Linked DNA regions of Homo sapiens: region 1 is linked to region 2. Evidence: promoter capture Hi-C in human tissues and cell types (Jung and others, 2019). All regions are on one chromosome and are shown on one strand. The core of a region is centred on a gene start or on the middle of the fragment in contact, and the rest is flanking DNA. Distances in the headings are between cores, read along the strand shown. Region 1 has its middle 280 kb from the start of LINC00460. Region 2 holds the start of DAOA (D-amino acid oxidase activator).

Region 1 (5,582 bases), core at 2,817-5,316, 630 kb before region 2:
TGGCAACCGCAAAGGAATCCCCACCCCAGGGTGTGTGCCATTCACAAACAAAGGTGCTACCCTGCAGTCTTCAGGGGGAAATGTCTGGCCTTTTATCTCCTGCAAATTCCCCAGGCTCTAGGGAGGCCACACAAAGCAGGGGCTTTTTTTTTTTTCTGTGCTTACTCAGTCTCACTAGAAGGGGCCCTTTCTTCCAAACTCGGTTTCCCTTCCTGCCTCCCCACCCCCCAACCCAGCTAGTTTCTGCCCTTCCTGCCTTCTCCCCCTAAGCCAGGTGTGTCACTGCAGCACATCCCCTTCCTTATATCTCTGGGGACACCCTCAGCTTCTGGATCACAGCCACCCTGCCCTCTTTCCTAAGTCAGGCTGCTAAGCGTTAGGGAGGAATTTACTCTTAGTAAATTCTCAGTTCTTAGTAGGGCACCTCCCTCCTTGCACGCCCTGCCCTAGGGTGGGGACAGAGGGTGTGTGGCCTTTACTTTGTGAGAGGTTCCCAGTTTTGCTTTTTCAACGAAAGGGAACAAGTCATTTAAAAAGATAAGCACTGAGCCAGGGTTAAGGGAGAGCACAAAAATAAGATCATTAGAAATTGCAATTGAAGCCAAGTCTAACTTCGTGTCCAAAGATCAGGATTCTTGGCCTTTGTCACCACTGCTGAGTTCTCCTTCTTAAGGGCCCAGTTTGCTTTTTATAAGCTTCAAGTGCATTGTCCTATTTGAAAGATATCTTCTGCTTAGACAAAAAGAATTCTAACTTTTATTCCTTCGTTATCACACGTCCTCGGCCCCTGATTTGATCTCGGAGCAGGGCTCCAGGCAAACAGTGCCCCCTGAACTCTCGCCTCGGCTTCCCCGGCCTCCTCCCTGAACTCTCGCCTCGGCTTCCCCAGCCTCCTCTCCTCTTTGCAGTCTGGTTGCCTGACGCACGCAGCGCATGCTTGCTTGTCACAGACTGCTAGAATGCAAAACGATGAGAATTAATGCTGTTATTAAAGGATTTTTAAATTAAATGTGCAGTTTAGAGCCAGATGCTGCCTTCTTAAAGGAAGAGAAGTTTAAGTTAAAAAATCTGACAGATATTCGTTCCATCTAGCGTGGCAGAATTTATGGTAGATTACCGTCTTTGATTTCTGTGGCCTGGGGTTGTCAGGTCCACTTGCAAATGCGCTGTGGGAAAGAGTTGCACTTTTGTAATTTGAAAACATATGGGACATATGGTAAATATTACACCCATAACTGTTACGAAGTTCTGTTTCCTTAAAGGACCTTTCTTTTTTGCCTGTACCCTCCAGGGGATTACTTGCAAGAACCCCATTATCTTTCTACCTCTATTTTCCCCTAAAGTCGATTTGCTTTATTCTGATGCTTTAGAATCCCAGTGAAAAAATCTGGAAATCGAGTGTTTATTTTTCTCCAGGCATGACAATACAATATTCTACAACCTCTGGTCTCCTCTTGAGCTAATGTTTATTTTACTTTTCATCTTTGTGTTCAAAGATACAGGCTTTTAAAAAATGAGTTTGTATGTTTTCTCTTTGAAGCCATCCTCCCCCTATTATATCTGTAAGCGGGTCAATTAAATAGGTATTGACAAGTTATTACCCTAGGCAAAACCAAAAACCAACCAAGTCTCAGGATTTAAGAAATGAGATTATAATGTGCAAAATGATAAAGGTTATCATACAGTGCAAAGTCCTATGGGAATGCAAAGGAATGAGAAATCATGTCTGATTAGAATGATCAAGAACAACTTTATTGCAGAAGACACATTTGGAATAAGCCTATTACGGATGTTGTAAGAGGCAATATGGATAACTTAGGGCTCCTGCTGGGCATGGCTGTGAGAGGAATGTGTTTGTAGGCTGCTATGTGGCATCTCCCATTGTGAGACAGCCTCCTGGATTCCAAAGTTGGAATGGTCCAGAGTGGACAATGATGAGCTGGTGGTCCCCTCAAAGATATACTCACCAGTACGTAAGTCACCTATGAATGGTGCAAGGACATAGCACGGTGTGTGGTCATTTCTCCAGATTCTCTGAATTAGGTGAGGCAGGGGGATGGCAGGAATGTGCCTTTTTAAAAGCTCACTGGTTGGCTCTACTGATCAGGTTTGAGAACCACTAGAACTAAAGTACACCATAATTAGGAGAGCTAACTATGTCCCTAACTGTAAGTTCAGGGCTATACCCCAACAGAGTAGTTCAACCCAGCAGTGAGCTAACACATTTGCCTGTTTTATCCAATCCCCTTTTTACATTGAGTCAGGGTAATTTTTCTAAAATGCCAAACAGACTCATAAAATACTTCAGAGGCTCCCCACTGTCCCTAGGAAAATGCCTAATTGTTAACATGAACCACATGATGCTCTTTGATCAGATTCTTGCCCACTTTCTCATCTCATCTCTTCCCATTCCTCTTTTTACATTTCCTGCTCTAAACGTCCTTTTCCTCTCATCTCTAAGCCTTCTCCCATGGCTGACCTTTCAGGGGGCCTGCTCATTCCTATCTGCCACCCGGCAGTACTCTTCCCCCAGGTCTCCCTAGAAACCGCTTCCTGTACAAGGACCTCCCTAATACCTCCATCTACCCGGAAGCCTGCCTTTTATGATCTCAGAGCCATTTCTCTACTTTGAAATAATTGCTTATTAGTCTGTTACCTTCTAGAGAATAAACTTTGTGAAAACAAGAGTCAACTCACCTTCCTCAATCTTGCCCTTCTAGGAGCAAGAACATTCATCTCTCGGTATTCATGAAGTATTGGTTCAACTTCTCTCAGATACCGAAATTCAAGAATGCCCAAGTTCCTGATATAAGGTCTCAGAGTATTTGCATATAACCTATGTACATCCACCCATCTACTTTAAATTGCCTCTAGGTTACTTATAATGCCAACTACAATGTAAATGCATATTATACTCTATTTCTTAGGGGAAAATGACAAGAAAAAAAAAACTGTACATGTTCAGTGCAGACACATTTTTTCCCCAAATATTTTAGATCTGAAGTTGATTGAAGCCACAGATGTGGAACCCACAGATACTGAGGGCCGACTGTGCTGTGTCAACGGAGTGTGCTCACCATAAGCATTGTCGAAAGGATGATTAAATGAAAAAAATAAATGAATAAGGAAATTGAAAACATATTTTTCTCGAGGTCCTACAACAAACAAAAACTGAGGAACAAATTTATAAACAAACAACCAAAAAAGAGACTGACAGAATTCTTATGTTTTTGCTGAAATATAATCTAATTTCTAAGTAGAATTTTACTTTACAATTTGCTGGTGATAACTAAATTATATCACAGTACATTATCTTCAAACGGTTTTTATTGCTGTTGCTATAACTTCTTTTAAGTGTATCCCTCTGATTCAAAAGGCTAGCTCTGAAAAAGGTAAAATGCTTCAAGGACGATTCTAATTCTAATTTTTCAGATCTAGTATACTTTTTAATCTGCATTTGGAAATTATTTAGTTAACATACTAGCAGATAATTGAGAAAATGTGTTAAAAGCTGAAATAGCATACTAGTTCAAACATGTTATATGCCTTGTAACAAAAAGTATTTAAAATAAATTTGCTTCCTGAATTTTCTAGAATTCTGATGTAAGAGTGAGACATGCTCTCCCTGATATTTTAGGAACTTTCTAAGTGGCTCTAACTTCTTAAATTTTTGTAGTCATTCTACCAGTGTTAAGTGACGTTAGAAATTTTGTTTGCATTTACATTTCTAGTAACTGTAAAAATCCTCCCAGTTCCACGACTTTTAACCTAGGATCCAATGACCACACTCCTGTCCCCCGCCACCATCAATAGATTTTCAGGGAGGAGAGAGTGTTTACAAACCTTCTGCAGTTGCATGTAAACCTATGTGGATTTACTTATGTGCCTTTGACTGTGGTGAGGGGTAAGCTTTATGAGATTTTCAAGGGGCACTGTCTGAAAGTGTCCTGAGATGTTTCAGGAACCTGGATAGCTGAGTCCCAATTTGCACCTAATTTATCGTAAAACATCTGACCACAAAGTAAATATGTGTCACCAGGAAATAGGTACCATAAAAGTGACTAAGCCTGCAAAGAAAAGTACAGAGAGTACAGGTTTTATTGCTCCAAATCGCTTGAGGTCTCAGAAGGACAAGTGAATCTGGATTGGCACAGTAGACACAGACATTTAACAAGATTCTCCACCAAACTCTTAAGTACGGCATCTTGAGAAAAACCCTTTGGTGGTGCTGTACGTGATAAAAAACAAAGTTAAGACACAGATCTCTGCTCTCAAGGAGTCTAAGTATATATATATATGTGTGTGTGTATGTGTGTGATGTATACATATACATATACATATTCACACATATACACACATAAGCATGTGTGCCCTCTCACACACACATATCATTTTTAAAAAGATTGGTAGAGATTCACTTCAAATGGTCATGGGAGCATTCGGGAGAAAAGAAGGGAAGATTGATTACAACCGCGAGATTTGGAAGGGTTTCTGGAAAAGCTGGGGTTTAAGCTTATTCTTCAATAGACAAACTGAGAAAGAATGAAAAAGGGAGAGGCACTGCAGACAAAAGAGATTTGTTATAAGTGGAAGGAGAAGAGCACAGTCTTTGGGACAGGCAGTGGAGGATTACAGAGGACCTAAGTGTTTCTTTCCAGGGAGTGGAGTCTAATGGAGAACAATCGCGGAAGGATAGGTAGAAGCCAGATAAATATTTGAGTACTGGGCTGGGCATTTGTACTTTACTCCATATGTGGTCGGAAGTCACTGAAACTGAGTCTAACATAATATGATCAGAGTCTTGTTTGGAAACATGGTTTTGACAGCAGTATGTCAGATGCATCAGAGGAGGAAAAGACTAGAACAATCTATAATACAGAAGACTACATTGAAGTCCTCGAGTGGGGCAAGATGGCGAGCTTTATGAGAGTATATCCACGGAGCAGAAAGAGAGGGGGCAGACTTCCTTAGAGGGGTTTGCCAAGATTCCATGTATGATTGGATGTGCGTGTAAAATAAAAAGGTAAATTAAAGATCATTGCCAATTTTTAACTTTAGTTTCCTGGAGAGTTCATGATGCCATTAATTAAAGGGTGGAATAGAGTTAATGTGTAAATTTTTTTTTTTTTGAGAGGAGGCGCTGTGTTCTATTTTGAGCATGCTTTTAGGATTCCTGTGGAAAGGTGTCATCCACAGTTGGAAACGTGAGTGTGGGAAGATGAGGGCTTGCAATATGGCTTGCAACATGGGCAGGGAAGTTGTTTGCAAACTGGTGATAGTAGAGTCATAGAACGCACAAAATTTTAAAAGATGACTAAAAAAAGAAGGAGACTAGGCCAGAGGGTGTCAAATACTGCAGAGGTTCACCTGGGTGAGAAGGGAAGGCTGGCCAGTGTGTTAGATGATTCGGAAGGCATTGGTTTACTTTACTGGAAAAGTTCCAGTAGAATTGCAAGCCAAAATACAGACTTCATGGAATTTAGCGATGATGAAGAAGTCAGCAAGTAAAGAGAGTGAATAAGTCTTTTAAAATTTTAGTTGTAAAGGGAAGAACAGTAACACAGAGACCAGTGAGATTAGGT
Region 2 (5,414 bases), core at 445-2,944:
AAAAAAAAAGGATCACCTTCTAGGGGATTAAACATTAATGGGCTGGGTGTTGTGGCTGACACCTGTAATCCTAGCACTTGGGGAGGCCGAGGCGCTGCTGCACTCCAGCCTGGGCAACATAGTGAGACCCTGTCTCCAGAAAAAAAAAAAAAAAAGAAAAAGAATTAAACGTTGACAGATTATTAAGTGAGGCACTGTGTGAGACCTAGCTTGGGTTTGCGCCTATAGATATTTAAAAGTTGATCCAGGTTTTCACTTGAAAGCAGAACTACTGCCTTAAATTCCCACTTCACAAAAATAAATCATGGATTGAGGGAAAAATTTACTTGTTTGCTTTATAAAAAGAGATATCGATCTCTTCATAAGTTATATATGTTTTACAAGGTTGCACTGTTTGAACTGTAAGTGTGAATGGTTGCTAACACTCCAGAAACCAAGAGGTACATTTTAACTGGAAAAATTTTCTTCCTGTATCTTACAAATTAATTGAAGTTTGTCTACGCTTGAAAATATGTCAAAAGTATTATGTAGCTTTACCACAGTTTTATCTAACTTCTAGAAGAATTTAAATTCATATAAAGATAAAGAGTAACATACCAATAGAGTTTAGAGAGTTTTCAGATTTGCTCAGAAGAATGCTCCTTTGAAAACCTATGAAGTAGATTTTACCCAATGTATATCTGGATCTAAAAATTAAAGAAAATATCAGTCGTGTTCAGATTCCTTTATACCCTGCAGAAGAGAGAAAGAATAAGCAACATCAATGGAGCATATAACATGTATGGTTTAGCACTTTCATATTTTTAATCTTAACTATTCAGCCAAATACGTCTTATTTTTTTATTTTTATAGATGAAGATATTGAGGTTTGCATTTTTTTTTTATAAATTGCTCAGTCATACAGTTGGTAAATAGCTGACAGGAGAGTTCACTCCAGGTCTTACTGGCTCTCAAACCTTTGCTTTTTAAAAATCTCCAAACTAGCGCCTCTCCCTTTTAACTGCAAAATAAGCACAAAGTTATCCCAGTTCTACACAGTGCTAAACAAATTCCTGTGAGCAAACAATTAGCACAGGCAGATGGAGTGAGGGGGAGGTGGTTTATAACAATGGAAAGCTGTCTGCCTGCTGTGGATTAAAGATTCAAACTCTTTGATCCTCCTCCCAGGGATAGGTGAGGGCCTATGTCTCCTCCTCATTAACATGAGTGATCCTTGGCTAGGTTCTCCTTTGACTGACAGAATATGGGAGAAAGTAAGGCTGAACCATATACTGGGCTCAGGCTTCCAACCCTGACATGTTCCACTTCCTGTCTCCAGGAACATTCACCCTGGGAGCTCTGTGCTGCCATGCAAATGTCACATTGCACTGAGGCCGCCATGCTGTAAAAAACCCCAAGCTACCTACCTGAAAAGCTGGAGAGAATCAGCACCCATCAGCTTTTCCAGCATTTTGGGTCCTCCCAGCTAAATCATCGGCATTGTGAAGCAGAGATGAGACCTCCTGCCATGCCCTTTCCAAATCCTGGACCAACAGAATCATCATATACACTAGTAAGCTTTTACTTTAAGCCACTAATTTGGGGTGTAGCTCTTTTGCAGCAAAAGATCATCAGAACACTGCCATGCAGGAGCTGATAAACTTGCTCACTGTTATGTATGTATCCAATGACTACTCACACACACATTACTTGCTTCACTCTACTTTCTGGCTTTCCATTCAGCAAATTTTAAGAAATGAAAATGTTATTCGTGGGAAATTAACTCAAGATCAATATTGTTGTAGTTAATCTCTTTGTAAATGGTAAAATATTAAATTATTGTGAGTCATTTTTATTTAAAGAAGTTTGGTTCTTTAAATGAAAGAAGTTTGGGTCTTTTGTGGATACTCTGCATATAGACATTCTAGACATGAAAGAATGTTGAAGACAAAGAATGTTGAAGAAATATAGACATGAAAGACTGTTGAAGTTTGGTTTTTTGTGGATACTCTGCATATAGACATTCTAGACTGGAGTGATACATCTTGTTCAGGTTTCTATGTTTTTAAAATGATAACTTGACACGCCTACCAATGCCAATTTTTAGGATATATATTTGTATATCTGTGTGAACTAAGGAAAATTCAGGAATGATTAAACCTACATATTTTGCCAGGAGAGACTGGATAATGTAAGTCTTTATATTTTTCACAACTTCAAGTTTATAGCATCCAAATGAGCAATTGCTGACATACCTAGGGGATTTCTCTGCAGGTTCAAGTCTGATCTGGCCTGAGGGCAACACTCTTACTGAGTGTGTTCCTAGGCACTCCTTGGCAGTTGGCTCCAGGCCACAATAAAGAGCCCTGATGATTCTCTGAGCAGGCCCAACTTCCATTCACATTCATGGGAATATGAGGATGACTTGTGATCTTCAGGACTTAGATAGACTCTTTCAGTTGGTGTAGGGTAAGCTCAGCTCATCTCTAGAGACTTCCCACAGTGGAGCTCATGCATGACTCTGTGCAGGTGGCACAGGACAGCCAGAGACAGGCACCTAAGGAGTGCACTACCAGCAGGTGGACTCTCCACTGAGGGAGGTAGACAAGGGAGAAAGCCAGGTGTCCACATGGAGCAGGCCTTACTCAGGGAGACTGAGATTTTGCTCTACACATCATAAAACGTGGAGGTCATTAATGGAATTTTTCACAGGACATGACTGCCATAGCCATGATAGGGTCCCTGGCTAATCTTTCAATTATGATAGCATCATAAGATAATTTTGAATATGAGGAGAGAAGAATAACTCTAGAACTGCAATATCCAATATGGTAACCCCTAGCAACCTAAGGCTACTTAAACTAATTAAAATTAAAACTTTAGTTCCTCAGTGCCACTAGCCATATTTCAAGTACTCAATAACCACACACACTTGGCTACCATGTTGGACAGCACTGACATAGACCATTTCCATTACTGCAGAAAGTCCTCCTATTTGACAGTCCACCTCTGGAACCAATCCGGAGTCTTTAGGGACCTAAAAGACTGAGGTGCTAAATCTCAGAGCAGTACTCTGCTTAATGCTTAGTTAAAAGACTTGCTAATCTATATAGTTGATCTAGAGAACTTTAAAGGCAGCTAGTTCGTAGCAACTATGTTGCTGGACCTTGAAACTGTATGTCAGGAACTTGGTGTTCTAGTGGTGACTTCTCTTTTATCTACCATGTTCACACTTTTCCTACCACTCATTTATCCATTCAGAAAGTATTTCAGAAGTCCCTATGATTTACCAGGTGCTATTTCAGACACTGAGGCACTGTGGGGAACAAAACAAACAAAGTCTCCTTTCTCAGGGATCTCACATTCCATGTGGTGATGCAGACTGTAAAAATTCACACACAGAAGATACTTTCATACAGTAGGAAGTTTTATGAAGAATATTTCAAAAGGGGTGTGGGGTGGGAGAGGTTGATGTTCAGGTGTTTGCTTGAGAATGAACTGTTCATACAAAGAATCAATAATTCATTTGTTCCACAAATATTTATTGAGTACCTGTTATTAGCAGGCTACTTTATTAGGTTGCCAGAGCAGGGTTTTCTTAGCACAATTAAAACACAATAACATTTGTTAGAAATTCAAAGACCCATGTCCACTCTTGCATAATGAATCAGAGTCTCGAGGTTATGGTCCAGAGACTGGTGTATTTAAAAATCACTGAAGTAATTTTAAGGTATAGCCAGAATAGAGAGGACACCGGCATTCTTCCTGAAACTCAACACACTAGACAATGAGAAATCATTAAAATGAAGTAAATATTTTGATTGAGATTGTTTTGGCTTCAAAATTAATAATAGCTTGGAGAGGAAAGAAGGTAAATTATAAAAGACAATTAAGAATCTCTTAAATGTATTTAGATAATAGTTACAGAGGGACAAAAATGAGTAGGATCTGTGATAACAGAAAGAATAAAAATAAACAAAAGGACTTAAAAAAGTAAGAATAAGAAAGAAGTCAACAGTAACCCAGAAATTTTCAACCTCATGTCTAAGAGAATGATGATGCTATTTAGCAATATATCCAAACCAAAAATACTACGAGAAGTAGGTTGTGTTCACTTGTGATGTTGTAAATTTATAATTACTTTTTCTTTATTTTGGATGCATGCTTTTCCTTTTTCTGAAGTTCTGAGACATACAAAAACAATAAAGAAAAACATGATTTTATGCCAGAAAATAAGATAGGAACAATTCCTCATGCTCAATATAATTTTAGCCTCCCACATAATCCAAAATATATGTGCAGCAAATTGTGGGAGTTTCGAAATTAGATCCAACTTCTTATTACAGTTAAAGATAAAAAGAAAACAAGGCTTTGTCTTTTTTAGGATCTTTTTTGGAACTTGCAGTATAAAAATACTCTTTCAAAAAACATAACTCAACATCAAAGTCCAATAAAACAGTAAACTGGACTAAATATATTCGTATATTAGCTTGACCTAAGTCTGGGAATTGAGCCAGACTTTTCAAATTATACTATCATTATTTACAGAAAAAGGAAATGTTAACTAACATTATTAAATAAAAGCACATATACACATGCATAACAGGAAACAAAATGAATGTTAATGTTAACAAATGTTGAAGATGTGTGTGTGTGTGTGTGTGTATGTGTGTGTATACAAAGCAGATAAGATATTCTCTTGAGCATGATTGGATTGGAAATAGTAGCTATGCCAGGGGAAATTTTATGCAATCCCCTTGGCTGTGGGCTACACATTTATTGTGTTATACAAATATGCCAAAAAAAATGCCATTTACACAGTTGCCTAAAACAAAATTGAAATTATACATTAGTGTTTAAAGTTTTTTTTTTTCTTTCGCCTCCTTTTCTTAATGAATGGCAGATAATGAAATTTAGGAGTTTGCAAAAACAAACGTAGTTTAAATTGTACCTTAGTTGTCTATGAAATACAAATACATTTTATATATTTATGGAAACATTTGTGTGTGTTCAGAAAGTCCATATTTTGCATTCAAGATTGACCCTGTTTTAAGTCATATTTCATTTGCTACACTCAAATTGACTAAAGGCAGATACTTTGGCATTCACTTTTTGATTCATTATTAAGGCATTATTTTGATTGATTCTGCTTAAGGTAGTTTTCCTGATCAGAGTAGACGTTTAGGCCACCTATCTAGACAAATATCCCACTTTCCTATCTGAAATATTTGATCTCTCCTTACCCATTCTAGGGTTTTGTGCATCTCTAAGATGATCATCTTGGTGTGGGGTCCTGATCTTCCCAGTGACTTAGCAGCACAGTAATTTGGCTGAAATGTTGATGAGTTCAGACAAGAAGAAGGTGATGATGACAAGAGAGCGTCACGGGGAAATTCTGCCCTGAGGAAGGAATAGTTTGAGGCTGGAGAGATGTG

What was found. The method cuts DNA at HindIII sites, captures the fragments that hold promoters and counts their contacts. A contact is called where the count stands out against the background at its distance.
Region 1: a fragment that was not itself captured here is called in contact with the fragment with the promoter of DAOA in region 2 in 2 of the 25 tissues and cell types used here (dorsolateral prefrontal cortex and mesenchymal stem cells).

What each region holds. Positions count from the first base shown.
Region 1 is chr13:106,095,253-106,100,834 of GRCh38, reverse strand. No RefSeq gene overlaps it. Among named protein-coding and RNA genes, the nearest start is that of LINC00460, 280 kb to the left of the region's middle. RefSeq lists an enhancer at 1-541. The HindIII fragment of the contact is 3,527 bases long and covers 2,303-5,582 here.
Region 2 is chr13:105,462,325-105,467,738 of GRCh38, reverse strand. It overlaps DAOA (D-amino acid oxidase activator), which reads right to left and starts at 1,694. Exons shown (of 6, transcript NM_172370.5): 1 at 1,679-1,694; 2 at 1,407-1,523; 3 at 598-686. The coding sequence starts at 1,450. DAOA-AS1 (DAOA antisense RNA 1) reads left to right here. Exons shown (of 7, transcript NR_040247.1): 5 at 1,319-1,552; 6 at 5,232-5,414. The HindIII fragment of the contact is 13,308 bases long and covers 273-5,414 here.